6 separate regions of the Homo sapiens genome follow, and regions 2, 3, 4, 5 and 6 are each linked to region 1. The links are contacts of gene promoters, found by promoter capture Hi-C in blood cells and fetal thymus (Javierre and others, 2016). All regions are on one chromosome and are shown on one strand. The core of a region is centred on a gene start or on the middle of the fragment in contact, and the rest is flanking DNA. Distances in the headings are between cores, read along the strand shown. Region 1 holds the start of CD48 (CD48 molecule). Region 2 overlaps LOC105371466 (a long non-coding RNA gene). Region 3 overlaps F11R (F11 receptor). Region 4 overlaps VANGL2 (VANGL planar cell polarity protein 2). Region 5 has its middle 32 kb from the start of ITLN2. Region 6 has its middle 48 kb from the start of VANGL2.

Evidence for each region. The method cuts DNA at HindIII sites, captures the fragments that hold promoters and counts their contacts. A CHiCAGO score of 5 or more calls a contact.
Region 2: a fragment that was not itself captured here is called in contact with the fragment with the promoter of CD48 in region 1 in 6 of 17 cell types (non-activated CD4 T cells, fetal thymus, total CD4 T cells and 3 more); the score reaches 7.9 in non-activated CD4 T cells.
Region 3: a fragment that was not itself captured here is called in contact with the fragment with the promoter of CD48 in region 1 in 14 of 17 cell types (naive CD8 T cells, fetal thymus, naive B cells and 11 more); the score reaches 12.5 in naive CD8 T cells.
Region 4: a fragment that was not itself captured here is called in contact with the fragment with the promoter of CD48 in region 1 in 9 of 17 cell types (non-activated CD4 T cells, activated CD4 T cells, naive B cells and 6 more); the score reaches 15.3 in non-activated CD4 T cells.
Region 5: a contact is called between a fragment that was not itself captured here and the fragment with the promoter of CD48 in region 1, in 15 of 17 cell types (naive B cells, total B cells, activated CD4 T cells and 12 more). The highest score is 17.2, in naive B cells.
Region 6: a contact is called between a fragment that was not itself captured here and the fragment with the promoter of CD48 in region 1, in 2 of 17 cell types (non-activated CD4 T cells and activated CD4 T cells). The highest score is 9.0, in non-activated CD4 T cells.

The regions. Positions count from the first base shown.
Region 1 is chr1:160,709,220-160,713,535 of GRCh38, forward strand. CD48 (CD48 molecule) reads right to left here and starts at 2,603. Exons shown (of 4, transcript NM_001778.4): 1 at 2,463-2,603. The coding sequence starts at 2,544. RefSeq lists enhancers at 2,852-3,031, 3,572-3,631. The HindIII fragment of the contact is 2,140 bases long and covers 1,978-4,117 here.
Region 2 is chr1:160,396,236-160,400,551 of GRCh38, forward strand. The region is part of intron 3 of LOC105371466 (a long non-coding RNA gene); the gene reads right to left. Among named protein-coding and RNA genes, the nearest start is that of VANGL2, 2.2 kb to the right of the region's middle. The HindIII fragment of the contact is 965 bases long and covers 1,389-2,353 here.
Region 3 is chr1:161,013,504-161,017,819 of GRCh38, forward strand. All of the region lies in intron 1 of F11R (F11 receptor), which reads right to left. Among named protein-coding and RNA genes, the nearest start is that of F11R, 5.5 kb to the right of the region's middle. RefSeq lists enhancers at 1-130, 541-760, 2,402-2,999. The HindIII fragment of the contact is 7,117 bases long and covers 1-4,316 here.
Region 4 is chr1:160,428,089-160,432,404 of GRCh38, forward strand. VANGL2 (VANGL planar cell polarity protein 2) reads left to right here. Exons shown (of 8, transcript NM_020335.3): 8 at 1-582. Among named protein-coding and RNA genes, the nearest start is that of VANGL2, 30 kb to the left of the region's middle. RefSeq lists an enhancer at 1,780-2,009. The HindIII fragment of the contact is 2,927 bases long and covers 882-3,808 here.
Region 5 is chr1:160,985,003-160,989,318 of GRCh38, forward strand. No RefSeq gene overlaps it. Among named protein-coding and RNA genes, the nearest start is that of ITLN2, 32 kb to the left of the region's middle. RefSeq lists a silencer at 2,397-2,691. The HindIII fragment of the contact is 816 bases long and covers 1,943-2,758 here.
Region 6 is chr1:160,446,815-160,451,130 of GRCh38, forward strand. No RefSeq gene overlaps it. Among named protein-coding and RNA genes, the nearest start is that of VANGL2, 48 kb to the left of the region's middle. The HindIII fragment of the contact is 4,867 bases long and covers 152-4,316 here.

The sequences.
Region 1 (4,316 bases), core at 1,353-3,852:
AAGATGTTTAAGAGACAGAAGTTCTGATCTTGGGCTCAGGAGACTGCTTGGGGCTTAAGAATTTACTGATGCTCTTCCCAGGTTTTCATCTGTATCGGATTCCGCATGTGTCACAATTGCAAAGCAATTGCACATTTTTTATTTTATTTGATCTTAATAGCAACCCCTTGAAGAAATGAGGAACAGATTATTATACCCATTATGGAGCTGAGGAAGCTGAGGCTCAGGAAGCTTTAATGACTTGTTGAAAATTCCACAGCATGGAACCCAGATAGAACTAGGTCATCTCATTTCTAGTACAATACTCTGTCTACTTCATCCTGCTAAGTGTTGTGGACAGATGGGGAATTGGGTAGTTGTGGAGCATGCCCTAAATCATTGCCTTGAAACCAAAGAACTGAGAAACCCAAGTCTGAGGAGAGAAGGAAGAAGAGAGCTAAGAGTGCTTCTCAAAGTTTTCCACAGAAGCATCCCTTACGGCAGAGGAGAGAACTACTTGCACTTCTCAGGAAGATATGGATGTGTAGTCCAAAAGGAAGTTTTTTGAAGTTGTTCATTCATTTGTGTAACAATTATTTATTGAGCACATGCCACACTCCAGGCCTGTGCTAAGTTCAGCAGCACAACACTGCACATGGTTTCTGTCCTCAAAAAGTTCAAGGAAACAGATGATCCACCAAGCAATTCACAAACCATAATCTGGAGCCTGAGGTTCCCATCTAACCATGCCTTCAGAACACAGTCACAGGCAGACAGTCCAAGAAGAAGTCACATAAAAACAGAAGCCTAAAAGAGAGGCAGGGAGAGGGCAGGAGGGAGAGAAATCTAGGTGGAAAGAAGGCATGTACATAAGCCCAGAGGTAAGAGAAAACGCCTCTTTTAAGGCAAACAGTAAAATTAAGAGATTTAGACACATTGACCTTCACCAAGATTCCCTCGCCTTAGTCTAGGAAAGGTATAATCATAATAGAATGGTTTGGAAGTTAGACCTGTGTGCCCTTAGGAGAATTTCTTAATCTCTCTGCAAGACAGTATTCTCATCTGAAAAATGTAGATAATAATAGCCACCTCACTATTTTCTAATGAAAGTTAAATGAAAAAGTATGCAAAAGGCCTAGCACAATGTCTGACACACAGTAAGTGCTTAATTTGTATTTTACTAACCCAGGTTATAGCCCGGGTGTTATAACCCAGGTTTACTAACCTCATCAAAACCAATATTATCCATTCAAAGGATAACATAATCAGGTGTGGTCTGATTGTTTCAAAGAAGAATAAATGACCAAGATGAAGCCTAGAAAAGAAGTCAGAGAAAGGTCAACTGTCAGGATGTTTTCAGTATGCCTAGAGAAAGTCCTAAAATATTCCAATTCTCATTGGCAACCCTGCTTTTCCCAATAGTTAGATGAATACTTCACATCAGCCCCCAATCCCAAGGTCATACCAATGTCCTATGCATTGAGTCAGGCCCACAGAACCTATATAGCCGTAGACTCACACAGTCATGAACCAAAGGACTCTACCTGAGAGGTAGAATATGTGAGAGACCGATCCTCCACACATTCTACCTCATCTCCCCAAAAGTTACAAACTATCATCATTTTATGCCACAGTGTGACTACCACATGTTTGTTGATTTTTACTGTTTTACTCAGAGTGGTGAGCATTAAAGCCCTTTAAATTAAAAAGACTTGAGTATTTACTTGGGGGAATAGCAAGAAAGTCAAAGGTTTCACTGCTGTTTCTCAGCTGGCATAAGAAGAGAGGTACTGGATGAAGAAAGAGGGTGAGGCAGCTCTAACAGGAGAAGGAAAGTTAGCTCAGCCCTTGGTCACACACCGGGGACCGAACAGGCTGTGGCAGAGGAATGGACCTTAACTCTTAGCAATCAGATGTGTTAAGGTTCCTTTGATGCTGAAGCACTTCCAGCCTCTTCTCAGACCCTCATTCAGAGACCCCAGACAGCAATCCTTTCCAAGCTTTTCTTCCTATAATTTTGATCTATCTTTTCTTTGGGTCAATGACAATATCATTTACCTTGGCTCAGGATGCAACACCTCACATATACAGAGGTCTCAAAGAATGCCTAAGGGAGTACAGTGTGTCTGAGCATAAAATGCAGCAGCTGTCAGTGTAGAGCTTCTTCTTATTCAAAATGAAAAAACAAACACTTTTCCACAACTTCATGGACCACCAACCACGGGACAAAATATGAGGAGCCTACTTCTCTTGCTCCCCAGGTTCCTGTTTTGATCACATCCCCGTGGGAAAGGAGATGAAGCTCCATTCATCAGTGCTAAGAAAGGCTCCCCAACCATGCCATGGCCATGCTATTGGAATGGAAATACCTGCTTTCCAGACACCAGATCTGGCTTCTAGGGTTGAACTACATCCCGTCTCCCCTTTCCCAACTGACCATGCCTTCAGTGCACAATCACAGATACACAGTTGGTGGAAAGTACCTTGAATGCTGGTCACCAGGAGTGACAGAGGCAGCAGTAGCAATTCCAGAGCCAGACACGAATCCCAACCTCTGGAGCACATGCTTCCTTCCAGAACTTCCCAGCAACGCAGGAGACAGTTGAGAGCCTGGCTAGAAAAAGGCCGGGGCTAAAAACGGAACTTACCAAACAGGGTTAGAGAGAAAAAAAAAAAAACCACTGAGATTTTCTCTCCACCCAGCACACTTGTGTGGGGCCCCAGAAACCAGAAACCGGAGGTCTTGTAAATTTTTTTATCTAAGAGCATCACGGAAACTGAGAACAATTTTGTTTGAAGGTACATGAGTGCTTTTTTGTAGGGGGAAGATTCATAGCTTCTACTGTACTCTCAGGGGGGCCAGTACTCAGAAAAGAATAAGGGACCCTGATAGAGAATGTCTGCTTTTCGTTCCCAGGCAGGAATCCCTCTGATTAATTCAGGGGCTAAGACATAGGAGCTTCCCAGTCAAGCCTGGGTAGGTGTCATTCAGAGCCTGAAGTCTGGGAAATCAGACCCACGTAGCCTTTGTGCTGCATATCTTACCCCCAGCACCACCCTCTGCTCTTCTTCCTTTATGATAATTCACTATTTGAAGTTTGACATCAGCCTATCCACTGAACATCAGAAAAAAAGTAAGATTACTTGGCCCAAAAGAATGGATTTCCCACCCTTGTAGTCTGTATTAGTCTGTTCTCACACTGCTAATAAAGACATACCCCAGACTGGGTAATTTATAAAGGAAAGAGAGGGGTTTTGTTTTGTTTTGTTTGTTTTGGTTTTTTTTTTTTTTGAGATGCAGTCTCACTCTGTAGCCCAGACTGGAGTGCAGCAGTGCAATCTCAGCTCACTGCAACCTCCACCTGACAGGTTCAAGCAACTCTCCTGCCTCAGCCTCCTACATAGCTGGGATTACAGGCAAGCACCACCATGCCCAGCTAATTTTTGTATTTTTAGTAGGGTTTCACCATGTTGGCCCGGCTGGTCTTGAACTCCTGACCTCAAGTGATCCACCTGCCTCAGCCTCCCAAAGTGCTGGGATTATAGGCATGGGCCTGTGCCTGGCCAGGAAAGTGGTTAAATTGACTTCTAGTTCAGCATGGCTTGGGAAGCCTCAGGAAACCTACAATCATGGTGCAAGGGGAAGCCAATACGTCCTTCTTCACACGGTGGCAGGAAAGAGAAGCACTGAGCAGCAATGGGGAAAGCCCCTTCCTTATGAAACCATCAGATCTAGTGAGAACTCACTATCACGAGAACAGCATGATGGTAACTGCTCGTATGATTAACTTACTTCCTACTGGGTTGCTCCCATGATATGTGGGGATTATGGGAACTACAATTCAAGATGAGATTTGGAAGGGAACACAGCCAAATCATATCATGTCTAGGAAATTTCAAGCTCATTCCTATTGAATGTAAATTAGTTATTTGCCCACCCAGGACCCACAGGCAAGCCACAGTTCCTGATATAACATATTTGTAATCACTTTTTAATTGGGGACATTTCTGATTCTCAACATGGAGATGAACAATAAAATGTCTGCTCTTCTCAGTCCTCAAACCTGAAGGACATTATGTTAAGTGAAATAAGTCATGCACAGAAAGATAAAAAACCACGTTCCCAATCATATATGGAAGCTTAAAAAATGAGCTCATAGAAGTAGAGAGTAAAATTGTGGTTATCAGAGGCTGGGAAGGGTAGAGGGAAGTGGAGGATGGGAAGAAGTTGGTTAATAGATACAAAGTTACAGCTAGAGAAGAGGAATAAGTTCCAGCATCCTGTAGCACTATGGAGTGAATACAGTTAAGAATAATTTAATGTATATGTTCAAAAA
Region 2 (4,316 bases), core at 621-3,120, 310 kb before region 1:
TTTTTTTTTTTTTTTTTTTTTGAGATGGAGTTTCACTCTTGTTGCCCAGGCTGGCGTGCAATGGCACGAACTCGGCTCACCGCAACCTCCTCCTCCTGGGTTCAAGCGATTCTCCTGCCTCAGCCTCCCGAGTAGCTGGGATTACAAGCACCTGCCACCATGACCGGCTAATTTTGTATTTTCAGTAGAGACGGGGTTTCTCCATGTTGGTCAGGCTGGTCTCTAATTCTCGACCTCAGGTGATCCACCCGCCTCAGCCTCCCAAAGTGCTGGGATTACAGGTGTGAGCCACCAGGCCTGGCCTAAGAATCTACTCTTTTAAGAAGGTTGGATGAGAAAGAAATAAAAGCGAAGGCTAAAGCAAGAGGAGGCTGCTGAGTGGAGGAAGGTATTTCATTTTATTATGTCTGCTGGGCAAAGATCAGTGAAGAGGCCGAAGTTGGTTACAGGAGAGATTGTGAATAATGGATGGAGGTGGGAAAGGACAGGATATAACGCACACCTGCAGGGCCTAGTCCCAGCCAAGGGAGCTGGAGAGTGTCTATTCTTCCCAAGAAGGAGGAAGGAAATCAGAAAGTTTCATTCAGTGGTTCTCACATTAAAATCACTGAGGTATCTTAAAAAAAATGCCAATAGCTGGGTCACACCTCAGAAGTTTCTGGTTTAATTAGTCTGGGATGGTCCTGGGCATTGATGTGTTTTCAAAGCTTCCCAGGTGATTAAAATCTGCAGTCAAAGTTCACAACCACTGGTTTAATTGCAGGTAACATTTTAGATTAATGATAATGGGATTGGATTTGAGGAAACTCACACTTAATAAAGGTTGGATGAATAGGGAGTGGTCAAGGTTTCATAGATGAGGAAGGGAGAAAGAGAAGGAAGCTAGAAGGGAAGGCAGCTAATGCTAACTTATTGAATTTTATGTGCCAGAGATATAGAAATGAATGAGGCATGGTCCTTCTTCTTAGAGATCAGGATCTCACATGACAGACACTTCACCACAAGCCTATGACATAATACAGTTCTTGACCAGTTAAGTTTTTTTGTGTGTGAGCTACTTTTATTCTTTTTTTTTTTTTTTTTTAACTAAAAGTGAAGGGGGAAACCCCTCACACCCAGAACCCAGGTATTTCCCAATATAGACTGGGTCTGGAAATCCTTTTGTGAGCATTGAGAGTAGCCTTTCTGGGAAGGTGGGTGCTGGGGAAAGATCTGTAACTATTCCGGGAGATCAACTTGTACCCAGGCTCATCAGCAGGGCTGGAAGTAGATGGTGATTGTGGCCCTGCATGTGGGTACATTACTGCAGTCACCTGTACCTGGGAGGTGGCTAAAATTGCTAATTGCTTACATGGAAACACTTTGATGGCCATTCTGCTATAGTGTGAAGCTTCTATGAGTAAGGTACCAAGGATTCCCTTTCTCTGAGCAGCATTGTAAAAAGGCCCTACTTTTCATCAGAGCAGAAAACCTAACTTTTGCTACTGTGGTCTGGGCCTGACCTCCAGGGACAGCTTCATCCACACAGGAAGTAGGTAGGTGCTTCTCTATAGTCTGGACCTTCCCTCAGAGAGAGTCTACTGTCACTTCTTGAGTTCCTTGAATCTTCCCCAGGAGGGTCCAACTCCCAGGGCTCCTGGGAAGCCTCTGATCTGACCCCACCAGCCCCACCTCCACCTAGTGAGCTGGTGAGGTGTTGAAAGGGCTTTAATGGAGGGCCCTGGCTTTTAGCTAGGGGCCTCCTTCCCCGAGGAAGAGTACTGAAAGAAGTGTCCTAGAGAAGTGTTCTCTCCTAAGAGAAGTATCCTAGGCACAGAACAGAGAGGGGAAACTCGACTGGGAATTGACTGTGGCACTATGAGTATATGGAGGGTGTTCCTTCTGTTACCTCATTAGACCCTTTTTATATAAGCAGAAATTGAGGCTTGAAGAAATTAAGAAATTCGACTATGTCCTCAAGGACAGGAGCTGTACAAAATCCAATCTGTTCCATTCTATTGTCCCTCAGGCTCTTGGCCTCCCTCTGTTATTGTAGGTTGGCCCCTTTAGGAAAATCTCAGTTGAATGTCATTTCAGTGCTCTCCTTCCTTCTAAAGAATTAAGCTAGGTCCCTTAGACCATAGGGCACATGGGCCTTCTAGCTGGGTCTCTGTTTGCTTACTCAGTGACTTGGGGACGTGTGAAATCCAGATGGGATTCTATCCTGAGGTGAAGGTAGAAGGTAATACAGAGAATTGCTGAATGGGACAGACCACACCAATAAAATTTTTTGTTGGACTCTGTAATCCAGTGTTTTCATTGCAGAGATGTAATTGAAAGCCCCCAACCTCACCGTCAGAGAAAGGAGGGACTAAGCTTATTCTAGCCTGATGCCTGATACCTGTTAATTGGGAAGCCTTGTCTGTTAACATCCTGACTTAGGTTTCAAGCTTTCAGTGGGGCCAGACTATGGAATTATCTGTAATTCTGGCATCAGAAGCCCTTTTTCCAGTTCTTTGGGCCATTTTGGGGTCTGTGAAACAGGCTAGCAGCATGTGAAGATAATTCACACTAAATCTGCCTGAGAGTCAAGACAGTGCCACGGCAGCCCCGACTCTGTGTCAAATTACACACTAGCTGCCTAGCACTGGGGTGTGCTTTGGGGCAGGGCTGGGGACACCCATGTCCTCCCTACTTCCCTTAACCCTTCCCCAGCTCTCCTGCCACTCCCTCATACACCTGGTCGTGGTCACTGCCAGGAGCCCCAGTGCGGCCCAGTGCCTGCACATGATAGGCACAAGGTGAATGAGTGCCTGGACGCATGCAGGGACTTGGGTACCTGAAATGATGATTCTGCATATTTCATGTAGTCTTGATGCTGAGTCACCTGCTTACCCATACTACTGGAGGAGGGGATGAGGAAAGACAGAGTTTGGGCAAAGGAGAAAGGAAGTGTGTTTTACTGTTCTGCATCTTTGAACAATGCAGCATAGTTGGTTCTGTCCTCATCTTTGGACAGGTTAGAATGAACCATCAAAAGGGGTGAGATTAGGTCTCAGGAAATAGTTTTCATCAGGGAGGAGCAAAAATTCCCAAACAAGTGAGGAACAGAGGCTGGGAGTCTCTTTCTCTGGGATTCCTTAATCACAGGGTTGTTCAAGCAGGTGCCAGGATTGGAAACTGAAGGAGGCTGAGATATTGAAAAGGCCTTGGCCTGCTTAGGGAGAAGTATGTGAAGATGCTTTTGAAATGATACTACTCTAAGTGGCGGGTTGCACGGCAATAACATTAATGATAATTGAATACTGCTTTCACTTACTCCAAGGGGAACATGGACTTCCCACAGCCCAGGCTTTTACGGTGTGGGTTCACTCTTGTAGGGTCACATGTAAAAGAACCCTAACTGGTTTCTTGGCATACTGGGAGGCACAAATGCCCCAAACGTGTAGGATATTTTGTGAGATCCTACAATCCCTGTGTGGCACCTTCAACTCTAAAGTATCTGAAACTCCTGGGATGGACAATCTGCCTGCTTGGGGTTGGGGACCCAACTGGCCAAGGCATTTTTCCTCTTGGAGGTTTCCTGGGAGAAGGCCCCCTCTCCTCTGCCATTCAAACTCCCAGGCGCCCGCGTCTTTTCCTCCTCCCCTTCTTCCCTAAGGCAGGGTTCCCTTTGTAATTAATCCCAACACTCAAACCAGAGGGGAGGAAAAATGTGTTAATGAGGGAGCGTCCCAGACTGACTGGGGCGGTCGCTGCTCGCAGCTAGAACTCCAAGTAATTAAATTATTTTTGGAAGGAGGGGATATGGTGGTGATGGTGTCAGGGAAATCCCCGTATGCATGGGAAGAGGCGTGCGCCTCTCGCCACTAATTAAAATCAGGGATGACCCTCCCTTCTCGGACCCCTAGGGGGAAAAAAAAAATCAATCTTCCCACGTCCCAGATTCCATTGGATTTTGTGTAGTCGGGTCCGTGGCCCTAAAGAGAATATGGCCAGCCCCAGGGATCTGGGGGCTCCTTCTCCGACAGGAGGGGTCCAGGAAGACAGCCCCAGGAGGGACTGCGGGCTGGGCCAAGTCCAAGAATCGAGGCATTCCCCTGCCCACCGTTCGGGACCCGAGTGTCAGCCCCACCGCGGATTCCCAGGATCGGGGAGGGCCGCTGGGCATCTGAAGGCGCAGGGCTGGGGGAGCGGCGACTCCGGGAAGAGCGGGGCCGCAGACAATGGACGCGGCGGTAGGAGGGGCGGCGGCTGTGGGAACAGCCGGGAGGCGGCACCCGGGAGCTCGCGCTCCCCCGCCCCCTGCACCCCCCACCCTCATCCCCTCCCCCTCC
Region 3 (4,316 bases), core at 734-3,233, 300 kb after region 1:
AGAGATTGAAGTAACTCCCATAAGGGTTGGCCTCCTCGTAAAGATCAAGAGGCTCCATGGGCCAGGGAAGTTCCACAGGGAAGGGCCTTTCCGGGGTTTGGGGTAGAACAGTTTAGAAATGTGTGAGCAAGAGGAAGGCTCTGTGAGGCCAACAACAGGCTGGGCTATGTCTAAATAGCCATCCTTGGCTGCACTTTCAGTGATGTCGATCAGCTGGCTCGGGTCCTCTGAGGATGGCAGAAAGTGGTAATGGCAGGGTAAGACAGGCTCGCTTTCACTCCCTGGCTCCCTCCCGCCCTCTCTGCAGAATTTCCGGTTCTACCTGCTCAGCTCCCCCGCCACCCCATCTTCCCAGTGCAAGGGAAGGTCGAGCCTTCCAGCGCAGGACTTACTTCAGGGGCCCAGCACCCACTTCCTGCCAGCCAGCTGCTTCCTCCTGTTCCGCCCCTACATTGTGAAACAAATGACGCAGCCGGACTTTAGACAGAAACCCTGCTTATCAGGGAGTCCAGGCAGATGAACTCTGGGTTCTCAATGCCAGGAAAACCCTAGTGTGTATCCACTCTCACAGTATGTGTTCACTCATACTGCTTTCCACAACCGTCACACAATAGTGAAACCTCATCCTCAATTATGTTGGACGCAAGGTCATCCAGGTCTTTCCTGAATCTCTGAAACAGAAACTGGTTTGAGTTTAGAGATCTCCAGGGTCTCTAGTCAAACCTAACAGATGTGATAAACAAGTCTCATTATTATCACATAAAATGTGCATGGCATTTAAATCTATTTTTGGGTGTGGTGGAAACGTGTGTTGCCCATTTATGTGTCCACAGAACAAGTGCAAATTGAACTCAGCTGACTTGGAGGGGGGTGGGATGTATCCTAACAGCCAAGGCCACAATCCCTAGAAACCAATATGGGCCAGGTGTAGTGACTCATACCTGTCATTCAGCATTTTGAAAGGCCAAGGCAAAAGGATCCCTTAAAGCCAAGAATTCAAGACCAGCCTGTACAACAGATGAGACCCTGTCTGTACTAAAAAAATAAAAAATTAGCCAGGTATGGCTCACCACTCACACTTGCCTATAGCCTCAGCTATTCAGGAGGCTAAGACTGGAGGATTGCTTGAACCCAGGAGGTCAAGGCTGCAGTGAGGCCAGGCACGGTGGCTCATGCCTGTAATCCCAGCACTTTGGGAGGCCAAGGCAGGCGGATCACTTGAAGTCAGGAATTCAAGACCAGCTTGGCCAACATGGTGAAACCCTATCTCTACTAAAAATACAAAAATTAGCCGGGCAGCTCACACCTGTAATCCCAGCACTTTGGGAGGCCAATGGGGGCAGATCACAAGGCCAGGAGATCAAGACCATCCTGGCTAACATGGTGAAATCCCATCTCTACTAAAAATACAAAAAAAAAAAAAAATTAGCAGGGAATGGTGGCGGGTGCCTGTAGTCCCAGCTACTTGGGAGGCTGAGGCAGGAGAATGGCGTGAACCCGGGAGGCAGAGCTTGCAGTGAGCCGAGATCACGCCACTGCACTCCAGCCTGGGTAACAGAGCAAGACTCCATCTCAAAAAAAAAAAATTAAATTAAAAAAATATGTACAAAAGGCTGGGCACAGTGGCTCATGCCTGTAATCCCAGCATTTTGGGAGGCCGAGGCAGGCAGATCACGAGGTCAGCAGATCGAGACCATCCTGGCTAACACGGTGAAACCCCGTCTCTACTAAAAAAAATACAAAAAATCAGCCGGAGTGGTGGCGGGCCCCTGTAGTCCCAGCTACTCGGGAGGCTGAGGCAGGAGAATGGCGTGAACCCGCGAGGCGGAGCTTGCAGTGAGCCGAGATTGCTCCAGTGCACTCCAGCCTGGGTGACAGAGCCAGACTCCATCTCAAAAAAAAAAATATATATATATATATATATACACACACACAAAAATTAGCCAAGAATGGTGGTGCACGCTTGTGTCCCAGCTACTCGGGAGGCTGAGGCAGGAGAATCACTTGAACCTGGGAGGCAGAGTCTGCAGTGAGACAAGATCACGCCACTGGACTCCTCCCTGGGCAACACAGCAAGACTTTGTCTCAAAAAAAAAAAAAAAGGCTGCAGTGAGCTATGATCATGCCATTGTACTCCAGCCTGGGCAACAGAGTGAGACCCTGTTTCAAAAACAACAACAACAACAACAAAACTCCATGATATATATATATAAGCAAGATGTAGAATATATGTAGTATGCCTCTTTTTGTGTCAGAAAGGGGAGAAAAAACAAGTATTATTTATATATACTTGTATCTGTAAAATGAAACACTGAAGAGACATTAGAAACTATTGGGGTTTGGGGTGAACAGGAGCAACATGGGAATGAGATACCCCACCCCTTTGATATCATTTTAATTATAAAACCATGTCAATTAACCTATTCTAATTAAATTTTTTTAAAAAAAATCACAGTAGCTCTATCTTGAATCGGAACTGGGCTGGAGACTCCACAAGACATGATCACAAAGGAACTGAAGAGCAACATGGTGAGGTAAAAGTGGTCTGGAGTGGCCAGGTGCAGGGGTTCACGCCTGTAATCCCAGCACTTTGGAAAGCCTAGGCAAGAGGATTACTTGAAGTCAGGAGTTCGAGACCAGCCTGGCCAACATGGTGAAAACCCGTCTCTACTAAAAATACAAAAAATTAGGGGCCGGGCGCGGTGGCTCACGCCTGTAATCCCAGCACTTTTGGAGGCCGTGGCGGGCAGATCATGAGGTCAGGAGATCAAGACCATCCTGGCTAACACAGTGAAACCTCGTCTCAACTAAAAATAGAAAAAATTAGCCAGGCATGGTGGCGGGCGCCTGTAGTCCCAGCTACTCAGGAGGCTGAGGCAGGAGAATGGCATGAACCCGGGAGGTGGAGTTTGCAGTGAGCCGAGATCGTGCCACTGTACTCCAGCCTGGCGACAGAGAGAGACTCTGTCTCAAAAACAAATAAATAAATAAATAATACAAAAAATTAGCCGGGCGTGGTGGCGCGTGCCTGTAGTCCCAGCTGCTGGGGAGGCTAAGGCAGGAGAATCGCTTGAAGCCGGGAGGTGGAGGTTGCAGTGAGCCAAGATCATGCTACTGCATTCCAGCCTGGGTAACAGAATGAGACTCCGTCTCAAAAAAAAAAAAAGTGATCTGGAGCCAGAAGGCAAAGACTAAAGGACACTGAAATTCCACTGCCACTCGTTTCCTAGTTCCAGGTAGAACTAGGAAGTGCCAGTCACCAGTTTCTAGTTTGGAGGGAACAATTCACTCCTGGGAGTAGAGGGAGAGGAAAGGAGGAGTGACTCACCAGTGTGGGGAAAAGCAAGAGAGATCAGATTGTTACTGTGTCTGTGTAGAAAGAAGTAGACATAGGAGACTCCATTTTGTTCTGTACTAAGAAAAATTCTTCTGCCTTGGGATGCTGTTAATCTATGGCCTTACCCCCAACCCCTTGCTCTCTGAAACATGTGCTGTGTCAAACTCAGGGTTAAATGGATTAAGGGTTGTGCAAGATGTGCTTTGTTAAACAAATGCTTGAAGGCAGCATGCTCCTTAAGAGTCATCACCACTCCCTAATCTCAAGTACCCAGGGACAAAAACACTGCGGAAGGCCGCAGGGACCTCTGCCTAGGAAAGCCAGGTATTGTCCAAGGTTTCTCCCCATGTGATAGTCTGAAATATGGCCTCGTGGGAAGGGAAAGACCTGACTGTCCCCCAGCCCAACACCTGTAAAGGGTCTGTGCTGAGGAGGATTAGTATAAGAGGAAGGCATGCCTCTTGCAGTTGAGACAAGAGAAAGGCATCTGTCTCCTGCCCGTCCCTGGGCAATGGAATGTCTCGGTATAAAACCAAGACATTGTACGTTCCATCTACTGAGATAGGGAAAAACCGCCTTAAGGCTGGAGGTGGGACATGCGGGCAGCAATATTGCTTTGTAAAGCATTGAGATGTTTATGTGTATGCATATCTAAAAGCACAGCACTTGATTCTTTACCTTGTCTATGATGCAAAGACCTTTGTTCACGTGTTTGTCTACTGACCCTCTCCCCACAATTGTCTTGTGACCCTGACACATCCCCCTCTCAGAGAAACACCCACGAATGATCAATAAATACTAAGGGAACTCAGAGGCTGGCGGGATCCTCCATGTGCTGAACGCTGGTTCCCCGGGTCTCCTTATTTCTTTCTCTATAGTTTGTCTCTGTGTCTTTTTCTTTTCCAAGTCTCGTTCCACCTTACGAGAAACACCCACAGGTGTGGAGGGGCAACCCACACCTTCACACCAGTCTACGGTT
Region 4 (4,316 bases), core at 1,095-3,594, 280 kb before region 1:
TCAGCCCTTAACTTTTCTCTTTCCCATCTCCACTCAGTATTCCAATGGCAAACCCTGATGATGTAACACCTGCGATGAGACATCGGACTCTCCGGAACTTTCTCATCTGACACGTCTTTTTCCCAGGGTTCGTACTTCTCCTCCATTGGTCCCAGGCTAACTCCCCTGTTCCTCTGTGGTGTCTGTCAGTCCGTCTGTCTTCTCTTTCCTCTGCCCTTCCCACAGGGCAGTATCTGCTGATGGATTCAGTCCTGGTGTGTGATTGTTGTGATTTGTTCTTCCGTGCGCAAAAGGAAGAGGGCTTTTTGAGTCCCTTCCAAGTGAGATTGTAAATGTAGAATTTTCCACTGTTGGATCTAGATTTTTTTTCCTTTTTTTTGGGGGGGTGGGGTTACAGAGCTGAGACCTTGTGCATGCATGTAGAAAATTGTAAAATGTAAATTTTTTTTAATATATAAAAAGCTTGTTTCTACAGTTTGCAGTGGATCTAAACATTACGGCAATTTTAGGATTTTTTTCTTAAACATAGGAACTAAAACTGTACAAATTTTTTTTATATAAAATAAAGACATTTGACTTTTGTGGGGGCATTCTGTTGCTTTTCTTTCTTTACAGGAATGGGAGCAAATGAGGGCCAGGGAATAATGAATATATTCCTTGTTAGGGAGGGAATGGGCAGGAGGGGGCAGTGTGAGCTCATCATTGCTCTGCAGGCCTTCAGGGTGTGTTGGAGAGAAATGGGAAAATGAAAAAGGAAATTGCTTATTCTGAATCCTGATTCTAAAGAGAGAGAAACAACAATGTGAGGGCTTAACCACTTCCTGGTGTAGTTGTCAGGATAGAGAAAGAAAGATTACTTCCTGGGTCCACCCTCCTGAGCAAGCTTGTGTCTGTATGGCCTCTAGGGCAGGAGTGGGTTTCTAAAACGTATTTCTAAAACATAAAGTGCCATAGGAATTTCAGGGGATAGTTGAGATTTCAGTCAGTGGTGACAGCCCATCACAATTCATTGAGACAAGTTTCTGTAGTATATATATTAGTTCTAAATATGTAGAGAGTTCAGTGCTCTGTTGTCACTGTAATGCATGTAATCAGGTACTAAAATCACCCTCAAGAGATTGGGTCCCTTCTCCCAGTCTTACCTGGGCCTGACCTCTGTGACTTTGGGCAAGATGCTTAGCATGTAAACAGCCTGCTAAGGTTAAAAACAAGCATTTCTGTATGGAGGTGGCCTATTCACTAGATTTCCTCCTCCTCTCCCCTGCCTCATACTCTGCCAGGCTCTGGGGATGCAAAGGCAAGAGAGGCTCCATCCTGGAGGATGACCCAGTTTACAGGGGTGACAGGCTGGGTGACCCTAGTGCAAGGCTTCATGGCGTGTTCTCAGGCAGAGTGTAGACAAACCCTGGCTGGATTCCAAGGAGCTCGGGGAGTTTCCTTCAAGAAATCTAGGAAGTTTGTTTAAGACTCAAGATGGGGGAACACACTCACCTTGAGATTACATTTTGTTCATCTAAGTATTCCTAGAATTGAAACCAGTTCCTCGCATATAGTTGGTCCTCAATAAAAAATTGTTGCATGAATAATGAACTGAACAACTAACAATACAATAGGGGCTCATGAAAGGGATCATATACTTGCTTCTCCCTTTAAAATTGCACTCCAGTCTTTCTCATGTGAAAACAAACAAAAATACTTCCCTTGAAATTGCATCCCCATTCTCACGGCTCTGTTCTTTCTGTAACTAGGTTTGTAGAATAGTTTCACTTGCTGTTTCCAGTTCATTTCAGAGTCAACTTGTGACTTACATTGTGACCAAATTTCTACCTTAGCATGCCTCTGAAATTATTCTTGTTCTCAACAGCCAAGTATAGTAAACACCTTTTAAGTTTATTCTTTATTTAGTGCCTATGATGTTCCCAGCCTGATACTAAAGTACTTTCTCTGGTAAAGATACTGGATATGGTCCTGCCCTCACTGAGCTAACCTTGGTGGACCCTTGAGAAGGCTAGTTAACCTCAGGGACCTCCTCTTGTAATGCTGGCCCCAGGAATTCATAGATTTAAAGCCAGACCTCAATATTTGATTGATAAGATCATATTTTCTCTAGAGGTTTGCTGCAAGCAAAAGTGATAATCCTGACCATTTGTCAGGCAGCAAAGGGTATTTGTAACTTTTGTTTGAAAGGATGTGTTTTCCACAGAAGTTCTTCACATAGCACTGAAGTTAGGGACCCAGCTTGGTGGATTGTCAGGGTCATGCCTGGGACTTCATGACATTATATGTGATTATATGTGATTACATATGCTGCCCATGTGTGATTTTTGTTTTTTAGCCTTTGCCTTTGAAATACAGCCGAGAGGGGGAACTGGGGGCTGGGGCTCTGGCTGAGGAGACATAAAGATCTTTAGACCAAGGTCTCAGTGATTTGTTATTAGTTTTTTATTTTTTAATTTTAATTTTTTTGTTACTATTTTTTTTTGTTTGTTTGGGATAGTTTAATGGCTTCTACAGACTGAAAGTCAGCTTGCTTAAGGTAACCCTTGGCTTTTTTGTTACTTTAAGCATATGATAGTAATGCTCTTCCAATTGCCAGGAAGGCTGGGGTAGGGGAAAGTCAGCCTTTGGAAAAGCACTGCAGCATTAGTGTACACATGGTCATGGAAGATGCTAGAGAGATAATAAAGGACCACCTACATAGTAAATCTTGGAGAATAGTCATCCCTGTCTAGCTCCCCAGTTTCTTTTCAGGCTGAGAATGGGGTCCATTTCTCTTGGTACAAACGGCAGGGCAGACATGACATCCTACCTGCTCATAACAGTGAATGCCACATTTGAGTATGTAGAATAGTGGGAGAAGGTACTGGTTTAGAGTTGGGAAACCTGGCCAAGGCATTGGCTTCTCTCATTTCATCTCAGCAAGTTTTGGGGGCACACTTACTGTGTGGTAGGCATTGTGATACAAAGATAAATAAAACATTGGCCCCCTCCCCTTGGAGCTCATGGGACTTTTGCTAGATAAGTTGGGAAATTTTATTTTGTCATATGTTGTAGGCAACCCGAGGAAGCACACTATTTTCCTGGAGGTGGTAAATACCATCTGTAAAAGGCAGACTGAAGCCAACAGTGTGTGAGGGTATTGAGCCTGATATGTAAACTATTTTGATGTCACTTGTCAAAAATAGCCATCTGTACTCTGATATCCTGTAAGGGGAATGACTTTGGTTATAAGGTTATAAAAATTAGGAGTATGGCTGGGCGCAGTGGCTCACGCTTATAATCTCAGCACTTTGGGAGGCCGAGGCGGGTGGATCACCTGAGGTCAGGAGTTCGCGACTAGCCTGGCCAAGATGGTAAAACCACGTCTCTACTAATAATACAAAAATTAGCTGGGCGTGGTGGCACATGCCTGTAATCTCAGCTACTTGGGAGGCTGAGGCAGGAGAATCACTTGAACCCGGGAGGCAGAGGTTGTGGTGAGCCGAGATTGGGCCACTGCACTCCAGCCTGGGTGATAAGAGTGAAACTCTGTCTCAAAAAAAAAGAAAAGAAAGAAAAGAAAAAAGAAAAAAAAAATTAGGAGTATGAGATCTTCGGTTGTGTATTGTCCCTTCTTGCTTTTGGGCACAATTAGGTCATGCTGCTGCTTCACTTAGGGTAAGTATGTGGTTAAAAGTATGTGGTTTTAGGATTTTTTAGGGCAGTGGAACTACTGTGTATGTGCTATAAATGTGGATACTTGGCATTATACATTTTTCCAAACCCATAGGATATACAGTACCAGTAGTGAAGCCTAATGTAAATTATAAGCTTTGAGTGATTAATTGGAACAAATGTACCACTCTGGTGGGGGATGTAGATAATGGGAGAGTCCATGCAAGTGTGGGGGCAGGGCATGTATAAAAAATCCCTGTACCTTCCACTCAATTTTCACATGAAACTAAAACTACTCTAAAAAGGCTATTTACATTTGAGATCAGGAGTTCGAGACCAGCCTGGCCCACATGGTGAAACCCTCCCCCGCTGTCTCTACTATAAATACAAAAATTATTTTGGTGGAATGCGCCTGTAATTCCAGCAACTCGGGAGGTCAAGGCATGAGAATCGTTTGAACCCGGGAGGTGGAGGCTGCAGTGAGCTGAGATTGTGCCACTGCACTCCAGCCCGGGCAACAGAGCAAGACTCCATCTCAAAAATAAATAAATAAATTACAAACAAACTCTATTTAAAAAAACCTGACTAAGAAGACATCAAGCACAACTTTACCTAATTCTAGACACCGCTCTAGTAATAAAAGTGATAGTATTATAGGTACT
Region 5 (4,316 bases), core at 1,101-3,600, 280 kb after region 1:
TATATGCAATTAGTATTTGTCAATTAAAAATAAAAGTTGGCTGGCTGCGGTGGCTCACGCCTGTAATCCCAGCACTTTGGGAGGCAGAGGCGGGTAGATCACCTGAGGTCAGGAGTTCAAGACCAGCCTGGCCAACATGGAGAAACCCCATCTCTACTAAAAATACAAAAATTAGCTGGACGTGGTGATGTGCGCCTGTAGTCCCAGCTACTCGGGAGGCTGAGGCAGGAGAATTGCTTGAACCCAGGAGGCAGAGGTTGCAGTGAGCCAAGATCGCACCATTGCACTCCAGCCTAGGCAACAAGAGACTCCATCTCAAACAAATAAAAAAATAAAAAATAAAAGTTTCGGCTGGGCGTGGTGGCTCACACCTGTAATCCAGCACTTTGAGAGGCCAAGGCGGGTGGATCACCTGAGGTCAAGAGTTCGAGACCAGCCTGGCTAACATGGTGAAACCCCGTTTCTACTAAAAATACAAAAAATTAGCCAGGCGTGGTGGTGCACGCTTGTAGTCCCAGGTACTTGGGAGGCTGATGCAGGAGAACTGCTTGAACCCAGGAGGCAGAGGTTGCAGCAAGCCAAGATCACGCCATTGCACTCCAGCTTGGGCAACAAGAGCAAAACTCTGTCTCTTTTTATTATTACTTTTTTAATAATAATAATAATAAAAGTGTTATGCGTGTCCACATAAGAGACCACCTGAACAGGCTTAGTGTGAGCAACATGGCTGTTTATTCACTTGTGTGTGAGTGGGCTGAGTCCGAGAAAGGGGTCAGCAAAAGGTGGTGGGATTATCATTGGTTCTTATAGGTTTGGGATAGGCGGTGTAGTCAGGAGCAATTTTTTACAGGCAGGGGATGGATATTACAAAGTACATTCTCAAGGGTGGGGAGGATGTTACAAAGTACATTCACAAGGGCAGGGAGGGTGTATTGTCACAAGGGCAGGGAGGATGTATTGTCACAAGGGTGGGGAGGAATGTTACAAAGTACATTCACAAGGACAGGAGTATCACAAAGTACATTATCACAAGGGTGGGGGAATGTCACCGTGGCTTGACCATAGTGCAGCCAGCTCAGAGGACCTTACAAAAAGTTTCATACTTGCACGTGTTTTCTTGTGGCAAAAATATAAAACATTTAATTTCTGGGATTCTTTTTTTTTTTTTTTTTTTTTTGAGATGTAATCTCACTCTGTTGCCCAAGCTGGAATGCAATGGCGAGGACTCAGCTCACTGCAAACTCCGCCTCCCAGATTCAAGCAATTCTCCTGCCTCACCCTCCAGAGTAGCTGGGATTACAGGCGCCCACCACCACGCCTGGCTAATTTTTGTATTTTTAGTAGAGACAGGGTTTCACCATATTGGCCAGGCTGGTCTCGAACTCCTGACCTTGTGATTTGCCTGTCTCGGCCTCCCAAAGTGCTGGAATTGCAGGGTGAGCCACCACGCCTGGCTGGGATCATCTTTTTTTCTACAGAGAGAAAATCAATTGTATCTCTACCAGGCAAACAATTTGCATTTGTATTAATATGAACAGGGATCATTTGTATCACTGTCAGGCTTCTACATATTTAACTTTTCTTTCTAGAGTTGCAAAACAGTACAAGACAAGGAAGGATACTGACCTGTAGAGAATCAGAAAACCCCCAGAAGCATCCTGTCCTCTAGTCTAGACAAATCCTAGTAATCCACTGGAAGGATGCCTGTATTTGTCCATTTCAGAAACTGTCACAATTTTTCCTTAACTAACAGCAGGAATTTTGATAGCCAAAAGTCATATTGTTTATTATCACTGTGGGAGCCAAGGCCTTTGGCTCCCTGAAGTTTGCTGAAAATCACTGACGCAAGGCAGATTAATAGGAAAAAAGGCATACAAACTTATTTAATATGTATACATAGAAGCCTTCAGAATGAAGACCCAACCTCCCAGTGAGGTGCAAAAGCTTATACGCCATCATGAGGTTACAGAAAGAATGAGTTTGGATCCTGCGGGAGAAAAGGAATTCTGTTGATGGGCAATAAATGATTACTAAAGAGAATGATTTGATCAGGAAACAAATTAACTTGTAAATAGTTTTCTTTGGAATTTAGATGACCATGAGAAGCAGGCATTAACTCATGAAAAGGTCTGTTCAGGTGTGGTTACATTTTTGGTCTTACAGGAGGAAAAGAAACCTACTGTTCTCCTTGGAGGGTCTGGATCTTAGGCAAATAAAGGAACTTCAGCTTTTTGGGAGAGACCGTGTGGAGCGGGGAAGGTCAGAGAGATCTTCAGGTTGCTTCTTCGGTTCAGTACTATATTTGGGGGTATCGATTTATAAACCCCAACATTACCTAATGTATTGTTCCCGATGAGCCTCCCTCCAATCCCTTTTCCCCTGTATCCCAATGGCCGGAAACTTGTGGAAATTCTTCCCAAGGCCTCTAAAAGCAGCACTTGCTTTTGCCTGGTTGCTAATGCAAGTTGTGAATTGCGCACGTGAATCACTATCACTGTCCATCCACCACTCTCTTGCTCTAAGGCATTGAAACGGCACTGCAGAGAGACGCCAGGTAACAAAGACTCTCCTTAACCAAGCTCTAGCATGGCTTCTAGCAACTTAAGGCCTTGTCCCTAGGAGGACCTCAGCCCCCCGCTTAAAATGCCTGCCTGAAAAAGCTCATCGCTGTCAGAAAAATTTACTGTGCATCCCAGCCCAAACCTAGCAATAGACACAGGCCCCTGAACTTCATCTTAGTGCAATTACTTAGAAAGAAAGCTTGCAATTAAAACATCTTTCTCTGCCTCTTTGAGATGTAAATCTTCTACCCAGAGCTATTTTCACTGGGACCTGAGAGTTTCTTTGAAATGCAAACATTTGAGGAAATAAATCTTGCTCCAGCTCCCAACCAGGTGGGTGCCTTGCTCTAACTTGCACTACTAGCTCCTGTCGTAAAAATAGGTGCTTATTTCTCTTCTGGACAAGAGCCAATTCACAAATCCAGATTGTCTAGTCACATGGAGCAATTCTCCTTAATATCTTCATGCCTATCCCTTAGCACATCCCAGCCTTCAAAAGGCCTCCTGCATTTTTTTTTTTTTTAAGGAAGTTAAGTTCAGTTCACCTTGGGCCCTCTTCCCTACTGCAATAGTTACTACTTAAAAAAACCTATCCTAGGCCGGGTGCAGTGGCTCACGCCTGTAATCCCAACACTTTGGGAGGCCGAGGTGGGCAGATCACCTGGGGTCAAAAGTTCAAAACCAGCCTGACCAACATGGAGAAACGCTGTCTCCACTAAAAATACAAAAAAATTAGCCGGGCGTGGTGGTGCATGCCTGTAATCCCAGCTATTCAGGAGGCTGAGGCAGGAGAATCGCTTGAACCCCGGACACGGAGGTTGCGGTGAGCCAAGATCGCGCCATTACCCTCCAGCCTGGGCGACAAGAGTGAAACTCCATCTCAAATAAATAAATAAATACCTATCCTTACTTCTTGTCTAAACTATTGTCTGGCTTTGTTTAGCTTTGACACAGGCTTTATAAGCCCACAAGTAACTTTAAGGCAAAGCCTTATAAATTCATCCAAGGCACTGACATTGAAGAATGTCTAACATTTCTGTGATATGCTTCAATCTCACTTCCAGCCTGTTCCAAACCTTCTTTTTAGTTTTCTACTTCCAGAGACTTTTTCCTTTGGTTAATCACCTTGTAATTCTTAGGTCTGATTCTCGAGCTAGCACATTTCAGCCCCTACAAATAAATGCCTTCTCCCAAAATGTGCAGCTCTTTTGCCATGCTACATTCTATTTGTCTTTCTAGTACTATTTTAATAAGTATCATAGCTCAAGCATGATCAACCCTCAGCTTCTTTATATGGTTATAGGAGTCTCTGACAAGCCTGAGGACAAGCATGTTCTGCATATTTTTTCTTGTCAACTTTTTTTAATGTGCAAAACATTAACATGGATCCAGAAGTCAAAACTAGACAAAATGGTAAATAAACTCAGAGAAGTAATACTCCATCATGTATCTATTTTTATTTTTATTTTTTTGAGACAGAGTCTCGCTCTGTCGCCCAGGCTAGAGTGCAGTGGCGCGATCTGGGCTCACTGCAAGCTCCGCCTCTGGGGTTCACACCATTCTCCTGCCTCAGCCTCCCAAGTCGCTGGGACTACAGGTGCCCACCACCACGCCCGGCCAATTTTTTGTATTTTCAGTAGAGACTGGGTTTCACCGTGTTAGCCAGGATGGTCTCGATCTCCTGACCTCGTGATCCGCCCGCCTCAGTCTCCCAAAGTCCTGGGATTACAGGTGTGAGCCACCGCGCCCGGCCGA
Region 6 (4,316 bases), core at 1,335-3,834, 260 kb before region 1:
TACAAAACTTGAGGTTCTTACCTGAAATATGAATGAGAGAACTATGCTATGCTTACATTTCTACATAACTTGCCTTCTTTCCACATGCCTATTTTTCGTTTTGTTTGGTTTTTAAACTAAACTGGTTGAAACTGAATCAGCACGGATTTTAAGCTTTCTTCTGGTCTCAGGTTTAAACTGAGTTTCCAGTCTTTGGTGCCTATTGCTAATGGGATGGTGGTGGGGTGTTTACGAGGGTGGGGCGGGGACCGTTGGCACAATCCATCCTGTTTCCACAGCAGATACCTCCCATTTCCTGTTTATTTTTTTAACGTTCTATATAGAAATAGTTTGTACAACTTCGAATAAAAAAAAAGAGTTTCAGGGTGGAAAAAACCAAGCCATCTGCAAGCCCTACTGAGGCAGAAATCCACCCTAGTCTGGGCAGCCTGTGGCTTTGTCTGAAAAGGGACCTTACACATTCAGAGCTTCTGTTCCTGGTATCCTCAAAGCCTTGGCTGACCTTGACTCCCTGGCACAACTGGCTCCCCTGGAAAGGTGGCTTGGGATTTGTGAGTTCAAGACTCTCAGTTTTGCACTAGGAGACTGGGGTTAGGAAGAGCATGCAGTTTAAATCTCTGTTCTGTTCACTAGACTTCATGAAAGCAGTGGTGGTTCTATCTTAACTCCTTTTGGCTGCTTTGCCTCCAATGTCTCCATGCTGATAATGTTGCTCTTGTGATGAATGATAACGGACTGATATGGACGTGTAAGAGAATAAGAATAGTGACAGTCATAGTGCTTGCATGGAATCTTCTGTTTTTTTCAAAGCATATTCACATAATTCTTCATTTGCACCTTTCTGAAACCATCTGAAGAAATGTGACAGAAGAGAATGGGACCCAGTAACAAAACTAACATTGATAAATTATTTATGAAGTGCCAGGCATTAAGCTAAGCTATATACAGTATTGACAACACTTTATTTATGTACATACATATTTACATACATTTCATAATAACTGTGTAATATAGGTACTGTTATCTACCTCTACTTTACACAAGATGAAATCGCTGACAAAAAATTGATTAATTGGGCCAAGGAGACATAGCTTATAAGTGTTGGGCTGGGATTCAAACGTGGTCTGCCATCTGCAGAGTCCAGTGTTTAACCACTAACAAGTGGAATCTAGGGTAAAGGGCACCTGTGTGGTATTATAACTCAGGTTAGAATCCAATTCGTTACCTTAGAACCTGGGTTTCCTGACTTTTATCCAGTGATTGTTTCTTGCTTTTTTCATTCTTTTATTGTGAAATATGTCATACACAGACTATATTGGATGAACACACACATTCAGTTTTTGTTGAACCATGCATGTGAAATTGTCAATATTTGCTCAGATTTGGCACGTAACAATAGCAACTTCATGATTTAATATACCATATTGTATTTTAATGAACTATATTAATTCATTCATATGCATATATATATATATACACACACACACACATATATATATATATATATTTTTTTTTTTTTTTTTGAGAAGGAGTCTTGCTCTGTCACCCAGGCTGGAGTGCAGTATGTGATCTCAGCTCACTGCAACCTCCATCTCCTGGGTTAAAGCGATTCTTGTGCCTCTGCCTCCCGAGTAGCTGGAATTACAGGCATGCGCTGCCATGTCTGGCTAATTTTTGTATTTTTAGTAGAGAGAGGGTTTCACCATGTTGGCCAGGCTGGTCTCAAACTCCTGACCTTAAGTGATCCACCCGCCTTGGCCTCCCAAAGTGCTGGGATTACAGGCATGAGCCACCATGCCCAGCCAATTCATTCATATTTAATGAACCTATTTAATGAACTACTATATCCTGGTTTAATGAACTAGTTTAAAGTTAAGCAAACCCTAATATAAGCAGCACACAGTTTAAAGAGTAGAGCATTGCCCTCTATGTGCCCCTCCTCCTCCTCCTTGCCCTCTGTAGATAATACTATGCTGACTTTTGTGATAATCATTTCTTTTCTTTGTAGTTTAACAACTGTGTTGGCATCCTTACAGAATATAGTTAGTTTTGCTTGTTTATGTCTTTATATAAATGGGTTATACTGCAAGTGTTCTTTTTCAAGTTGCTTTTTTCATTCAATATTAGGTTTATGAGATTTTCCAGACTGATGCATGCATTTATAGTTTTAATTAATTAATTGATTTTTATTTCAATAGCTTTGGGGGTACCAGTGCTTTTTAGTTACATGGATGAATTGTAGAGTGGTGAAGTCTGGGCTTTCAGTGTATCCATCACCCAAATTAGTGTACATTGTACCCAATAGATAATTTTTCATCCCTTATTCTCATCCCAACTTCCCCCTTTGTGAGTCTCCAATGTCCATTACACCACTCTCTTAGATTTCCAATCCATGAGCATGAGATGTTTGTTTGTGTCATCTATGATTTCTTTCAGCAGTGTTTTGTGGTTCTCCTTGTTGGTTAAGTATATTCCTAGGTATTTTTTTTTGCTAGCTATTGTAAATAGGATTGAGCTCCTGATATGATTCTCAGCTTGGTTGTGTTGGTGTATAGCAGTGTTATTGACTTGTATACATTAATTTTTGTAACCTTAAGATTTGATGAATTCATTTATCAGATCTAGAGATATTTTAAACAACTAAACTAGATCTACACTTGGATCCAGCAATTCCGCTACTGGGTGTCTACCCAGTAGGAAGGAAAATAAGTCATATTAATAAAGACACTTACACATGTATGTTTATTGCAACACAATTCATGATTGCAAAGATAAGGAATCAACCCAAGTGCCCATCAACCAATGAGTGGATAAAGAAAATGGTGTATATACATGCCACGGAATACTACTCAGCCATAAAAAAGAATGAAGTAATGTATTTTGAAAAAACTTGGATGGAATTGGAGGCCACTATCCTAAGCGAGGTAACTCAGGAACAGAAAACCAAATACTGCATGTTCTCACTTTTAAGTGGGAGCTAAGCTGTGGGTATGCATTTATAGGGTTTTTTTTGTTTGTTTTTTTGTTTTTGTTTTTTTTTTTGAGATGGAGTCTTGCTTTATTGCCAGGCTGGAGTGCAGTGGCACTATCTCGGCTCACTGCAACCTCTGCCTTCAAATGATTCTCCTGCCTCAGCCTCCCAAGTAGCTGGGACTACAGGCACATGCCACCACGCCCAGCTAATTTTCGTATTTTTAGTAGACACGAGGTTTCACCATATTGGCCAGGATGGTCTTGATCTCTTGACCTCGTGATCCGCCTACCTTGGCCTCCTAAAGTGCTAGGATTACAGGTGTGAACGACTGCGCCTGGCCTATAGTTTTTATTGTTGTTGTATGATATTCCGTTCTGTGAATAAATCACAGTGTACTTATTCATTCTACTGTTGAAGAGCATTTTGGTTGTTTCTGGGTTTTAGCTAATTAGCACAACACTCCCGTGAACATTCCTACATGTGTCTCCCGGTGCAGATGGCAGAAATCCCTCCAAGTCTAGTGTACATATTTATGGGTAGATTTACTGAGTGGAAGACAAAGCTAAACCATTTACACTAAATGACTCTGCACCCAGCAGGTACCAAGTTTCCATTGCTCCACATCCTCTCTTACACTTGGCGTTATTAATTTTAATGTGTTTGTCATCTAGGGGTGTGTAGTGATCCTTCGCTGTGATTTTAATGTACATTTCCTGGATTATTAAAGAGGGTGAACAATTTTACGTATCTTCAGTGATCATTTGGATTTCCTCTTTGCCCTTTGGGAAATGCTGTTCATGTGTCTCCCTCTCTCTCTCTCTCTGTGTGTGTGTGTGTGTGTGTGTGTGTGTGTGTTCACAGGAATTCATTACATGTTTCTGGATATTAGTCCTTTGTCAGTTACATATACTGTAAATATCTGCTCCCAGTTGTGGCTTGGTTTTTACTTTCTTTATGGTTTCTTTAAGTAAAAGGATTTTTAAAAATTTAATGTATGTGTATGATTAGTGCTTTTTATGTCTTGTTTAAGAAATCCTTTTTTATGCCAAGATCATGAAGATATTCTCCTATATTGCCTTTTAAAATCTTTGTATTTTTGTCTCTTACATTGAGGTCTTTCATACTCTTAGAATTGAGTTTTGTGTATGGCGTCAGGTAGTGGGAGGAGGTCTAGTTGTTCCAGTGTGATTTATTTTTAAAAATCCATTGTTTTCCTACTGATACGCATTGCTATCTTTGTTATGTATCAGTTTTCCGTGGCTTTTTCCAGTGGGGTAATCACTGTCCCCTGTTCACTTTTGAGAACAATTGATGATTAACTTTATGTACTTGTTCTCTCCTC